Regions from separate parts of the Homo sapiens genome. Here regions 2 and 3 are each linked to region 1. Evidence: promoter capture Hi-C in 16 types of primary human blood cells and fetal thymus (Javierre and others, 2016). All regions are on one chromosome and are shown on one strand. Each heading gives the region's core, a stretch centred on a gene start or on the middle of the fragment in contact. The rest is flanking DNA. Distances are from core to core; before and after follow the strand shown. Region 1 holds the start of ZAP70 (zeta chain of T cell receptor associated protein kinase 70). Region 2 overlaps VWA3B (von Willebrand factor A domain containing 3B). Region 3 overlaps VWA3B (von Willebrand factor A domain containing 3B).

What was found. Contacts are between HindIII fragments. The CHiCAGO score rates a contact against its expected background, and 5 or more counts as called.
Region 2: a contact is called between a fragment that was not itself captured here and the fragment with the promoter of ZAP70 in region 1, in 2 of 17 cell types (erythroblasts and endothelial precursors). The highest score is 5.5, in erythroblasts.
Region 3: a fragment that was not itself captured here is called in contact with the fragment with the promoter of ZAP70 in region 1 in 1 of 17 cell types (erythroblasts); the score reaches 5.4 in erythroblasts.

The regions. Positions count from the first base shown.
Region 1 is chr2:97,711,068-97,715,918 of GRCh38, reverse strand. It overlaps ZAP70 (zeta chain of T cell receptor associated protein kinase 70), which reads right to left and starts at 2,343. Exons shown (of 14, transcript NM_001079.4): 1 at 2,245-2,343; 2 at 1,925-2,003. RefSeq lists enhancers at 1-330, 1,562-2,535 and a silencer at 4,509-4,698. The HindIII fragment of the contact is 8,251 bases long and covers 1-3,384 here.
Region 2 is chr2:98,203,038-98,207,888 of GRCh38, reverse strand. All of the region lies in intron 12 of VWA3B (von Willebrand factor A domain containing 3B), which reads right to left. It also overlaps the pseudogene ATP5F1BP1. Among named protein-coding and RNA genes, the nearest start is that of VWA3B, 120 kb to the right of the region's middle. The HindIII fragment of the contact is 1,262 bases long and covers 2,237-3,498 here.
Region 3 is chr2:98,173,857-98,178,707 of GRCh38, reverse strand. All of the region lies in intron 8 of VWA3B (von Willebrand factor A domain containing 3B), which reads right to left. Among named protein-coding and RNA genes, the nearest start is that of VWA3B, 89 kb to the right of the region's middle. The HindIII fragment of the contact is 3,877 bases long and covers 386-4,262 here.

The DNA of each region.
Region 1 (4,851 bases), core at 1,094-3,593:
CTATGGAAGCTCCTGCTTCCTCCCCACAAATATTTGTCAAGTGTGTAAGGACAATCACAACAGCCTCTGTGCTGGGGACTGCACTACCCTTTGCGAGCATTAGCCATTTATTCTAATTCTCACCACAACTACATTTGGTGGGAACTGTTATCCCACTCCTCAGCTAAAGAAACTGAGGCTCGGAGAGGTCAATGTCACTCTCAGAACATGCAGCCTGCAAGGGGCCACCAGGATTTGAACTCAGGTCTGTCCAATGCAGCAGCCAGCACTAACCACTCCAGCAAATGTCTATTAGGAGACCCTGGAGAGCTGGGCTGGTGCGGGGTCAGGGTCAGATTCCCCAACCCAGCACACTCTCCAAGTGTCTGTTGATTGAACAATGCCCTTCCACCGCCCCTCCAGTGAGGCCCCCAACTCCGGCCTCCACTGCCTGTGTGACCTCAGCAAGCAGCGGTCCCTCTCTGGGCCTCAGGCTCTGTGACTGTAAAAGGGAGATGGGAAAAGGCGGTGTGAGTCAGGAGGATAGGGGCTGATAGAGACAATGGAACAGGGTGGGACTGTCCTGGGCCTTGTAGGCTGTTCACAGGATTCCTGTCCTGGACATGCTGGATGCCAGTAACACCCGCTGGGTCACAACCCAAACTGTCTCCAGGCACTATCAACTGTCCCAGGGAGACGGGAGGAGGTAAAATTGGCTCTGATGAGAATGGCTGCCTTAACCCTGTACCTTGGGGTGGGGCAGGGAGTGGTCAGCACGGGGTGGTCTGGGTGCTGCAGCCCCGGAGAGCATACAGGAACTGTGGAGTCCAGAGCCCGAGGCCACCCAGAGCTAGTGAGGATAATGAGGGTTTTAGTGAGACCTTTCTGCAGCACCTGTATGTGCCGGGCAGTGTGGATACAGTCACTCTCTTTATCCTCCCGAGAGCCCTGGGAGGGAAGCACAGAGAGATGCGGTGACTGGTCCAGTCACACAGCTGGTGAGTGGCAGAGCCAGAATGTGAAGCCAGGCCCCCAGGCTCCAGAGTGTGCACATCAACACCACCCCCGCAACACTGCCAGGGCAGTGGGGCTGAGGATGGAGGGCAGGTGTGAAGAGGAAAAGGAAGCTCTGGATTCAGCAGGAGGCAGCTTCACAGGTGGCACCTTAGGAGTCCCTGACCCTGATCTCTCAGCAAGGCATTATTAAACACCTCCTGTCTGCCTACTGTTCCAACCAAGACGAGAGTAATGAATCATCTCGAGCTGCTCACCTCATGAACTCCTGTTCCTTCCTGTCGGGGATGCTTCCTACCTGGGACACATTTCCCAGCCTCTCGCCAACAGTCAGGAACCAGGCGCCTGCCAGGTGCCCATATCTGCATGTGCATTTAACAGATGCACAAACTGAGGTCAGAGAGGCCAAGCAACTTGCCGAGAACACACAGCAGTTGAGGAGAACTCGGTGTTTTGCTCTTTCTCTCTCCAGGTCTTCCTCTAACCTGAGCTCGCCTACAAGTGGCTCAAGCCTGCCCTGGACTCCTCACAGGAATCACAGCATTCTGCTGATGGAGCTCACGGCCCTGGTGAGCAGCCCCCTCATCTTCACAGAGTGCACATGCGCTTTCTCTGGAGGTTTCTCTGCCTCCGAGAGCCAAGGATGCAGCCAAACAGGGCCCAGCAGGAGCCCAGGGACTGAGCAGGCCTCACCGTGTCCCCTGAACAGCCCCGCTCGGCCAAGCCTCTGGAGGGGGAGCTGCTTCCCTCAGCGTGGCCACAAGCCCCGTCTGCCTCCATCTCCAGCCAGTCACCACCCAGCCCAGTCCTCCAGCTCTCCTGGTCCTCCCAGCAACCTCCTGACTCCCAGTTAATATTCTGTCTTCCTCCTCCAGACACAGCCCACCATGGAGACGGTGGCCAGGTGCCACTCCACCCAGGCACCACTTACCTGGGGACGTACAGGTGGATGTCCAGGCAAACAGGCCACTTGCGGGGTCTCTGGTCCCAATGCCAATGGAGAGCCGGTTCTGGGTGAGGAATCGGGGCTTACAAAGCCGGTTTGGATTTCCCTGCAGCCCAAGCCCCCAGCCTGAGAGGGAGGCCCTGCCGCTCACACTCTCCGCACACACCCCGGGGGAGGATGTCACACCCCGCCAGGGTTTCTCACTCATGGATGGGGGGGGTTCATCCTCTGCCAGGTCTCCCAGAGCCCCCTGGGGTGGCCCTGGTGGCAGGACACAGGCAGAAGGCCCGAGGACAGCCGCTTACCTGAATGCCCCAGCAGCAGCTCTGAGGCCCACGGTGGGCCAGGCCTGCCCGGAAGGCCTGGTGTCTGCTGAGCTCCGGCAAGCAGGCTTGTCTGAAACTAACCTATTTCCTGGATGCGAAGACAGGAAAGGGGGCTGTGTTTGATGTTTACATCAAAGTCACAAAGTGCTGTGCTCAAGGAAAATCACAGGCCACGTGCTCCAGGGAGGCAGAGGGCATTTCCGGGGCCCAGCACTGCCTGCCCAGCTGCAGGATGGGACTGAGAGATGGGAATGAGGCTAAGCAAAGGCAGGGTTTCAGGAAGGACGACTCCAGCAGCAGGAACCGTCAGAAGGGAGGAAGCCTGCATACCTGGAACCGGAGGGTAGGCAGCAGTGGTGGGAAGGAGGGGAGTCCCAGGGCTCATGGAAACTGGAATGCCCCCATTTTCCCCTCAAAGGGGCGTCGCCCTGGGGCCTGCACCAGCTAGACAACCCAGAGGAGTGATTTGTTTATTCCACAGGCAGGTTAGAGCTGGAGGGAGGAGAAACCCACTGAGTCAGCCCATACCCCGAAGGTGAGAACCCCTTCTGTGCCAGGCATCTGGATGGCAAGGACAGCCTGCCCTTGCTCTCCAGTGGCTCGCAGGCTTGTTGGGGGCAGCTGAGTCCACAGGGAGCCAGGGCTGGGAGGCCGGAAGCCTGGGCACTGTGTGTCCCCAGAGTATCCCCAAGCCAGCCTGGAGGATGTCAGGGATGCGTTCCAGGAGGAGTCAGCCACCCAACCGAGACACAGAGCCAGGGCATCCCCAGTGCTAGCCCGGCCCACCTGGGACCTTTCCCACGAAGCTGAACCTGGCTGAGTGCCATCCCGCTGTGGCCACCACCTCCTCCTCCTCTTCCTCTCCTCCCTTCCCTCACCCTGTGCACCCCCTACCCTTGGGCCTGGGGCCACACCTCATGCACTCTCTCAGAGAGGGGCCTGCAGAGCCACTCCCTCGGCTCCATCTCCCCTCTAGTGCCCCAAGGCCTCTGGGAGCCCCTTGCCCACCACCTCCTTGCTTTCTTGGGCACTAAGGGAGTCGTCACAGCTCTCCTGTCTGTGGGGCCTCAGAGACCTGTGTGGAACTGCCCTGGGCCCACTGTGGAGACTCCTAAAGCTTTTCTTCTTGGGGTCCTGCTGCCCTTGTTAAGTGGGCTTGTGATACCCTACCTTGTTTTAACCTGAATTGACTCTCCCTTAGCTAAGAGAGCCAGACAGACTCCATCTTGGCTCTTTCATTTGCAGCCCCTTACCCACCCCGCTTCCTCAAGGACTTAATTTGTGCAAGCTGACTCCCAGCACATCCAAGAATGCAATTAACTGATAAGATACTGTGGCAAGCTATATCCGCAGTTCCCAGGAATTCGCCCGGTTAATAGCACCCAGAGCCCCGGCGTTTGTGTCCGGTTGATAACGCCCAAAGCCCCGTGTCTATCACCTTGTGATAGATTTTAAGCCCCTGCACCTGGAACTGTTTGCTTTCCCGTAACCATTTATCCTTTTAACTTTTTGCCTGCTTTACTTCTGTAAGATTGTTTTAGACCCCCACCTGTCCTTTCTAAACCAAAGTATAAAAGAAAATCAAGCCCCTTCTTTGGGGCTGAGAGAATTTTGAGCACTAGCTGTCTCTCAGTCGCCAGCTAATAAAGGACCCCTGAATTCGTCTCAAAGTGCGGCGTTTCTCTGTAACTCGCTCGGTTACAACAGGCTCAGCTCCCCAGTCTGCCTGAGGATCCCCTCACACCCTACCCCGAAGCCTCCTTGGGGACCTCCTTTCTGGCCCTCTACTATCCTCTGGCCGCCTGAATCCCCTTTAGAAAATCTGAGTTCCGGCTCTAGGCTACTTTTCTCCTTCATACAGCCCCCTCCAAAATGGTGTTTGCTAGCAGCCTCCCTTTTCCCCAGCGGCATCTTGAAACTCCAGGTGCAGCAAGCATCCCTTCACATCCATGCTGGACGCTCATTTCTTGGAGTATTGAGAGAAAAAGACACCGGCACCCTGAAGAGAGGAGAAATTACAGCATCAAATCACATTCATACTACAATAATGAGAGTCGCACTGATTATGTGCCAGACATTGCTGTACGCACATCACAATTAATAAGCCATTCAACCTATTTTCCAGATAAGGTAAGTAAAGCCCAGAGAGGTTAAGAGATGCCAAGTGGCCAGGTGGGATTGCAGCCCAGGCAGCCTGACCCCACCCACGTGCTGCTGGACATAAAAGAAGAAAACTTTGGTTGTAAAATATCTCCCCGAAGGAGGCCAGCGCCCCAGGGAGCTGGAAGCTGAGCCAGCTATGGGACAGGGTGCCTCTGTGTGGGTGGGGGGCTTCCAGTTTCCAGGGTCTTCAGGTCCTGAGAAGGGGATTCCCAGCCTCTGCAAGGCACTGGCCCTACAACCCTTGAGCCCCCCACTTCCTGTCCCAGAGGCTGGTCTGGAAACTACAAAGCCCAGTGCTCAGACAGCTCTGAGATTGGGCTACAGATAATCCGAGATTGGCATGCAGATAAGGTCCTCTGTTCTGCCAGAGTGGAAGGAGGTGGATGCATCTTTTGAATGTTTACAGTAAAGGGCAAACGGATG
Region 2 (4,851 bases), core at 1,618-4,117, 490 kb before region 1:
TGTACATTGTATTGGAAACCTTAAATACTCTTCAGATAGAACATGTTTTCAATCAAGGTTCTCATGTGGCTTACACCGAAACCTGAAGCTGTTTGGATTAGGGGAAGGAGAGGGACAGTACAGCAGATGAGTGCTTAGTTTGCCAAAAAGACCCCTCACAATAAGTGCTCTTCAGCCAGCGTATCAGCTTCTGCCAAACCTTCTTCAATGGGTTCCATCACTGAAGGCCCGTTCTGAGAGATGGTCATGTTCACCTATCAAAATCTGCTGAAATCCTTTAATGGTCTCCTTCAGGAGTACTGACTTCCCCATATGACCTGTGATGACCTCAGCAGCCTGGAATGGCTGAGACAAGAAACGTTGTATTATCCACATTCAAGACACAGTCAACTTGTCTTCCTCAGAAAGTTAATCCATACCCAATATGGATTATGACAATAACGTATGGAGGGATTTGTAGCCATGCAGAATCTTTTGCACCCCACGGGCAACATCATTATGCTCATTGCCAACAATGTTGGGATCCATGATGTGAGAGATGGAGTCCAGAGGATCCACATGTAGATAGATGCCCAGCTCAGTGACAGCATGGGGCAGCACAGTGGTGGCATCCAAATGAGCAAAGGAAGTAGCAGAGGCAGTCGAGTCATCAGCAGGTACATAGCCTGTACAGAGGTGATAGATCTCCTCTTGGTAGTGGCAATTCTTTCCCCACATCATACCCACCATGTCAGTGGCCAGGGTAGGCTGATAGCCCACAGCAGAAGGGATTCTGCCCAATAAGGCAGACACCCTTGAGCCAGCATGGGTGAAGTGAAAGATATTATCAATAAACAGGAGTACATCTTGAACTTCTTGGTCTCTGAAGTATTCAGCCACAGTCAGTCCAGTCAGAGCTACCTGGGCATGAGTAGCATGTGGTTCATTCATCTGACCTTACATCAGCATTACCTTGGAGGTAACATTTTTTAAGTTGACAACACCAGACTCAGTCATTTCATAATATAAGTCATTGCCCTTACAGGTCCTCTCAAAAACACCAGCAAACCCAGATTAAGCACCATGGGCTTTGGCAACATTATTGATTAACTCCATGATGGGTACAATCTTGTCAACTCCAACACCACTAAAAAGCCCAATTTTGCCACTCTTGGCTAGGGAGTGAGGAAATCCACAACTTTGATACTAGCCACCAGAATTTCTTGCTCAACGCTAATTTCCATGAACTCAGGAGCCTCAACATAAATGGGAGCAAACTGTTTCATTTTGATGGGACCGCTTTCATCAATAGGCTCTCCAATGATGTTCATGATTCTGCTCAAAGTCTCAGGACCAACAGGACTTTCGATTGGTGCACCAGAATCCAGGACTTTCTGGCCTCTAAACAAGCCTTCTGTACCATTCATAGCATAATCCTTACTGTGCTCTCACCCAAATGCTGGGTCACCACAAAAACCAGCCTGGTCTCCCTGCCTTGTACTTGCTGGGCATTTAAAATAGATGGTAGTCCCTCATCAAACTGGATATCCACTACTGCATCAATGACCACCACAATACACCCAGTGGTGGTGCCTGTCTTCAGCAAAGGTGATGTTTGTGCCCATATTTCCTGGTAGATTGGATTGCTGCCAGAGTGGCCCATGGCAAGACCTGAGCTTGGAGTAGCAACACTGACGGGCTGAGTTCCTGCAAGGCCCTGGAGGCTGAGGCAGCAGACATGACCCACAGAACTCAACATGGTAGAGTTTGGGTGGAGACTGAGTGTTGCCCAATATCCCGCTCTTAATGATTGACAGAACAACTAACCAATCAGCAAGGACGGAGAGGAATTGAACAATACCATCAACTAACCAGATCTAATTGAGATTTATAGAATACTCCACCCAACAAAAGACTGCATATGCTTTTCAAACAAACATTGAAAATGTGCATAAATAGACCATATCTTGAGTCACAGAACAACATTTAACAAATTTAAAAGATTTGAAATCATACAGAGTATGCCCTCTGACTATAGTGGAATCAAAATAGAAATTAATAACAGAAAGACAACATGAAAATTTCCACAAACACTTGGAAATTTTAAAACATGCTTTGAATAATTCATGGCCCAAAAGTTAAATCACAAAGAAAATTAAAAATTAAATAGTACTGAATGAAAATTAAGCTGTTTTGTTTAAAATTTGTGGGATGTACCAACATAATTCTGGCAGGAAAATTTATGGTACTAAAAGCTTACTTACAATAAAATAAAAATATGCCAAAACTATAATTTATGTTCCTACCTCAAGAACCTAGAAAAATAAACTCAAGAGCAAAATAAACTCAAAGCAGGCAGAAAGAAGTAAATAATAAAGAACAGAAATTAATAAAATTCAAATAGTAAAACAATAGAGAAAATTGATAAAACAAAAGGCTGGTTGTTAAAAAGAATCAATAAAATTGACAAACTTCTAGCAAGATTTGCAAGGTAAAAAGACACATATTACCAACATCAAGTACAAAACAGGGCCTATTACAACATCTCTTGCAGTCACTGACAGGACAATAAGAGAATATTATGAAAAACTTTATGCTCATAAATTCTACAGTTTAGAAAAAAATGAACACTTTTTCAAAAACCACAAACTACCAAAACTCTACCAAGATGAAACTGACAACCTGAATAGTTCTATGGTTATTAAAGAAATTGAATTTGTAATTAAAAAGCCCCTGAAAAGAAGTATCTGTGTCCATATGGTTGCACTAGAGAATTAATTCATTAATTTATTTATTTATTGAGGCAGAGTCTCTCTCTGTCACCCAGGCTGGAGTGCAGTGACGCCATCTCAGCTCACTGCAGCCTCTGCTTCTGGGTTCAAGTGATTCTCCTGCCCCAGCCTCCCAAGTAGCTGGGATTACAGGCATCTGTCACCATGCCCGGCTAGTTTTTGTATGTTAAGTAGAGACGGGGTTTTCCCATGTTGGCCTGGCTGGTCTTGAACTCCTGACTTCAGGTGATCCTGCCTGCCTTGGCCTCCCAAAGTGCTGGGATTACAGATGTGACCTACCGTGCCTGGCCGCACTAGAGAATTTTATCAAACATTCAAAGGAGAATTAACACAAGTTTTACACAATCCACTCCAGAAGATAGAAGGGGAGGGAATACTTCCCAACTCACTCTATGAGGCCAGTATTACACTGATACGCAAAGCAGACAAAGACAGCACACACACAAAAAGCCTACAGACCAACATCTCTCATGAACCTGGACACAAAAGTTCTCAACAAATATTAGCAAATTTAATCCAACAAAGTATAAAATGAATAATACATCATGACCAAGTGGCATTCTATGTATTCAGAGTTGGTTCAAAATTTGGAAAAAAAATCATATGAGCATATCAATTTGCACAGAAAAGGATTTGGCAAATGCAACCTTCATTCAGTATAAAAATTCAGTACATTAGGAATAGAATGAAACTTTCTCAATCTCATAAAGAGCATGTACAAAAAGCTTGCAGCTAACATCATACTTAATGGGAGAAGACTGAATTCTTGCCCTTTATGATTGGGAAAAAGGCAAGTATGTCTGCTCTCAACATACCTATTCAATGTAGTACTGGAAGTTCTATCCGCTGCAATAAGGCAAAGGAATAAGTCATAGAGGTTGGAAAAAACAAACAAACAAATACTACTGTCTATTTGCAGACTACCCAATTATCTACATAGAAAATCCTGAGAACTACAGTTGTCCCTTAGTATCTGTGGGGGACTGGTTCCAGGATCCACTCCCAACCCCATGGACACCAAAATCTGAGGATGCTCAAGTATCGTATAAAATGGCATAGTATTTGCACATAACCTATACAATCCTCATGTATACTTTAAATAATCTCCAGATTACCTATGATATCTAACAAAATGTAAATTCTACATAAGTAGTTGTTATATCTTTTAAGTTTTGTATTATATTTTATTGTTGTATTGTTATGATTTTTACCATTTATTTTTCCCAAATATTTTCAATCCATAGTTGGTTGAATCCACAGACACAGAACTTGCAGATATGGAGGGCTTACCATACACAAAAAACAAAAAGCGAAATAGTACGTAAGCCTACTAAGGTCAAAAGATGCAAAGTCCACACATGAAAACCAACTGCGTTTCTACACACTGACAACAAATAGGTGAAAACCAAAATAAAAAGTGCAATACCACTTACAATTGCTCCAAAAAATTACAATACTTAGTATATACTTAAACAGGTACAAGAGCTGCATGCTGAAATTATAAAATTCTGATGAAATAAATCAAAGACCTAAATACTCAGAGAGACATACTGTATTCATGGAATAGATGAATTAACACAATAAAGATGCCAATTCTTCCTAATTAGATCTATAGGTTTAATGCAATTTCTATCCAAATGTCAGCAAGGTTTTCAATAGGCATAAAGAAGTTTGTTTTCAATTTTTGTATGGAAAATAAAGGCCCAAGAATAGCCAAAACAATTCAAAAAAAGAAATGTAAAGTAGGAGTAGCTGTTCTTGATCTTAAAGCTCACTATACAGCTATAGCTATCAAGAAAGTGTGGTCCTAATGGAGACATTAACACATATAACAATAGAACAGAACAGGGAACCCATACAAAGACCTGCAGACATATTCAACTGATTTTTGGCAAATGAGCAAAAACAATTCAATAGAGGAGGAATAGCCTTTTCAATAAATGGTGTCACAAGAATTGCACATTCATAGGCGAAAAATAAATAAACCGGCCGGGTGTGGTGGCTCACGCCTGTAATCCCAGCACTTTGGGAGGCCAAGGCGGGCAGATCACAAAGTCAGGAAATCGAGAACATCCTGGCC
Region 3 (4,851 bases), core at 1,075-3,574, 460 kb before region 1:
AAGCTCCCCAGGCAACTGTATTGTGCAGCCAAGCTTTGCCACTGGCTTAAGGTGGAAAGGGCTTCTCAGTTATGACTTGGTAACCCCATCAGCTGATGCTTCCATCAGACACACATGCAAGTGAAGTACTATTAATTAAAAAGTAGCACTCACTGTTAGGGAAACAAAAATATGACCCAGGCTTTCCTATTACTATATTTAAGGGGATATAGAATTAGGATAAGATGGGAAGACATAAATCATGTTAGAGCCAATTCCTTCTGTATAATGTGTAAAGGACCTGCCCATTAATGCTTCATGAGACCCATGTCCTTGAATTTTAATAGAACACCATTGAAAGAATTCACTCTGAAACCTACTAGAGTGGGGACTTCTCAAAGAAGCTTGTTCTGGATTTTGAACTTTAAACCAACCTTGCATCAAAAGCCCCTCAGAGCAGCATCCCCGACACCTGGAGCTGGCTTTTCCATGAATCACAAAACATTTTTTCACGCTTCTCCGGGAGCTCAAGCCAGAGGCTTCTCAGAGCTCCGAGTCCCTGGGGTTCGCCTGCACACTCTCTCCCATCACAAAGAAGCAGCAAAAAGAGGATGCCGCCATTTCTGTCAGGGAGATCAGCCTCCTTGGAGAAACCCTTGGGGTGACATTTTCTTCAATTATTATTAATTATATTCCCATTCATTGTGTTTCTGCTTAGGAAGACCTTTCCTTTTCTCCTCTCCCTTTTTTTTCCTGATCAATAGGTGCAGTAGGAAATTAAATTTTCATTCAATTATTTCCATAGCAACACACACCTTATTATACCCTTCTGCTCTGTTTTGGGCTGCCTTCTTTTAAAAAAGTTAAGAGCCCTCTATCAAGTATAAATTCAAGTGTACCACAGAACTTCCTAAAAACACATTCGAACCAATCCTCGCAAGGGTTTTGAAAGAGTCAGAGACTAACTTCTGACTCCAACTTCACAGTGGACCAGGCGGTGCAGTCCTGAGGGCAGGATTCAGGCTCCCAATTACCATCTGAAAAGGGGGTTCAGGCAAGCCGCCAGAGCCACCTGAACTTTCATAGAGGAAAGAAAGGATGACCAAGCAATCAAAACCAAAGAACCCAGGCACTCTAAAGCTAAAGAAAGGAGAAAAAAAAAAAGGAGGGAAATCTTTTAACTTCCAGTGCTAATTACACCAATTAGTGGCTGAGTCTCATTTTCCTGGGAGGGGCAGGGAAGGGCATCATCCATTCACTAGCGTCACTTACTAAGGGGTCCTTTCCTTTTCCCTGCAGTTATCTTAATTAAAAATGTTACATGAATTCTCACCCACAGAGAATTCATTTATTATAGAAGTATGAGCTCACAGCTAATCCTGATTACATGGCTTTCCTATTCCACAGGACAGATTGCTAAAGATGTTCTTTCTGTTATGAGAAGGGAGCACATCTATGCCACAGAATTGACCAGCCCTGTCCTCCCCATCCCACTTGTCAATCTCAGAACATTTTTCAATGAAAAAGACCTACTGGGAAAATGCTTTTGAAAACCATCCCTGCTATAGCCAGGGCCACACACAAATAGATAAATTGGGCATAGGTATCAGTGCCCACTCCTCTTCCTGTCCCTCATCCACCCACCCTCCAGGTTCAGCTCCAGAGGGGCTCACAGCCATCAGGGATTTCTCACCACCATAACTCTCTTCTCCCAGCCTCCTCCACTGAATGTTACTTGCCTGGCACCTCATTCCTGCCACGCTAGCCCCACATGCCTTTCAGGGGGGCTGTCAGCGTATGAATAAACTGGAACTCTAGACCAAGTCTGATGTTTCCAAGAGTGGGTCCCACAGAAACTGCTTCCACTGCATGTCAGTGGCTTCTACTCAGGAAGAGGGCTCCTTAGACAAAAAGTTTGGGGAGCTTGAAAGGAAAGTTTCAAAGGATTCTTGATCACAGGACTTCTGTAAGACTTTCTTAGGGGAATGGGCAGTGGGGCTTACCACAAGCAAGATTCCCAAAGCTATTTAGCCCCAGAGTCTTTCTGCATAGAACATTTTAGAGGGCTTGTATTTGAGAGACCATAACCCCTGTGATCATGGGTGCCATGAGACAATGAACAAACTCTTGGCCACCACATGGGGAGTGGTACAGGAAAAGAATGCTGTGAATTAGCTGAAAAGGAAGGCAGAAGGAAAGAAGGAAGGAGGGAGGAAGAGAAAGAAGGGAGGGAGGGGAAGACCGAAGAAGGGAAGGAAGGAAGGAAGGAGGGAGGGAGGGAGGGAGATGTTTGGTATAATATGGAACAATTGAGATTAGGAAGTGAGACAGGATTGATGGAGTTAAGGAAATTTAGACTGAGTGACCTGAAATTCACATGTTAAGTGGTGATGATGAGGGAGGGAGGGAGGAAAGGAGGGAAAGATAGAAGGGAGGGAGGGAGGGAAGGGAGGACAGAAGAAAGGAAGGAAGGAAGGGAGGGGAGAAAAGAAGGAAGGAAACCAGAATTGAGGACAGCTGGGAAAGGAGGGAGAAACATAACAACTGTCAGGAAAAGAAATGTGGTCTCGCCTGCTGGTGAGATGAGTGAGGTTTCAGCCCTGTGAGCCGGTTCAGCATGGAGCAGCTGCAAGGGCTGTGGGTTCTCTGAAGGTAAGATGAAGCCCATCCCAATCTGAGATCCGGGAGCCAGGTGGCGACAGTGTGGTGTGAGAGAGAAGCTCGTCTCTGAGCAGTCAAGCCCTTTGCTGCAGTTGCTAACTAAACCTGCTGTCAACCTACACTTGCTAAAGTACCATGCAATAAGCATATCTGCCTGGCACTGCAGGGGAGCCAAGAAATGGGGAGGAGGGAATGAAGGAGATGGAGGATGGTAACCCACCAACATTCTACCAAACGGATTCATTGTGGAGATCAGGTAAATGTTCTCTGGAGCACCCCACGGGCTTTCAACAGCTTGATTATAATGTGTCTAGGTGTGGGTGTCTTTTATCCTACATGGAATCCATTTTGCTTCTTGGATGGGTAAATTAATGTTTTCATCAAATGTAGGGAGTTTCCAGCCCTTACATCTTCAAATATTCTTTCTCTCTCTCCCCCATCCTTTGGGGACTCCCATTGTTCACATGTTGTTATGTTTATGGTATGCCATTGGTCTCTAAGACTCTGTTTGGTTTTTTTCATTCTTTATTCCTTTTGTTCTTCAGACTGGGTAACCTCAATTGAGCTATCTAAAAATTCATTGGTTTGTTCTGCTTTCTCAAATCGGGGTGTTGAACCCCTCTAGTCAGTTCCTCATTTCAATACTTTGTACTCCAGAACTTTTTTCAACTACAGAATTTCTATTTGCTTCTTAAATAAAATTTCTCTCATTATTGATATCTCTAATTGGTAAGACAGTGTTCTTATACTTCCTATGTTCTTTAGACATAGTTTCCTGTAGTTCTTTGACATATTTAAAATCGCTTATTTAATATCTTTATCTAGTAAGGTCAATGTCTGGGCTTCCTCCTGGACATGGACAGTTTCCTCATGGACAATTCCCTCATGGACAGTTCCTATGGATTGCTTTTTTTCCTTTGTATGGTCCATACTTTATTTCTTTGCATGCCTCATTTTTGTTGTTGTTGACAACTGGACATTTTAAATAATAAAATGCAGCAACTCTGGAAATCAGATTCTCCCACCTGCCCAGAGTTTGTTGTGATTTGGTGGTTGTTTGTTTATCACTCCTGAATTCTGTAAAATCTGCATTCTTTATCATTTGTAGCCACTGGAGTCTCTGCTCAGTTAACTCAGTGGTCAGCTAATAATTGAACAGAGATTTCCTTAAATCTTTTGGACTATTCCTTGCTGAGGAGCTGTGTGTGTATCAGGCCACACTTTCCATGCTGTAGCAGTTAACAACTCTCCCTCAGCCTTTACTTCCTGCTTGTGCAGAGCCTCAGGGTCAGCCCAAGATGAGAGCTTAGGGCCCTCCTGAGTCTTTTTTTGAACATATGCATAGCCTGGGCATGCCCACAGCCCTGTGCATGTGCCTGCCTGGGCTATGCATGATAGATTCCCAGGAATACCTCAGAGCTTTGGAAAGACCAATGGACATCCCATTCCCCAGTTTTTCATCTTAAGTGTTTTGGTTTACCTCTTGTTTGTCCTGACTGTTATCTACAACCTTAGTCAGCCACAAAATTAATCAATCACCTCTCATTGTTTTTGACAACGGTTCCCAGGGAAAAGGCTTTTCCCACTGAGGAAGAACTGAGTGAAGTCAAATAAAGAAAGCTTTGTAACTGGGGTCTTCCAGAGAGCCAGTGAACAGGTCACATAATGAGAATTATCTGGAAATGAAGCTTTGAAGGAACTCCAACCCCATCCTGCCCCCTCCAGTGGCTGTGAGCCTGTGGTTTCCACTGTGATCACAAACTGTTCGTTTTTAAGGTTAGTGAGGAGCTGGAGCTGGGGAATGTGAATAGGACTAGCTAAAATGCCACCAGCTCACTATTCTTACTGAGATTTAATTATTTTTCTTGAATAAACACTTCCCAGATTGCTGCACACCTTGGGTTAATTTCTAGAGTTATGAAAAAGGTTGATTCTGATAAGGTCCTTATGCCTTCTATGAAGGAGAAGTTTTGAAGGTCCTTAACTCTGCCATTTTTGCCCAGGTATTTTTGGTGTTTCCATAATTAGGGGTCCAAATACACGAAATATAATTCCTCAATAGATTTGTTGTGCTTTTCCACAGTCATTTTTTTTTTCTTTTGAGACAGAGTCTCGCTCTGTCGCCCAGGCTGGAGTGCAGTGGTGCGATCTGGGCTCACTGCAGCCTCCGCCTCCCGAGTTCAAGCAATTCTCCTTTCCTCAGCCTCCCGA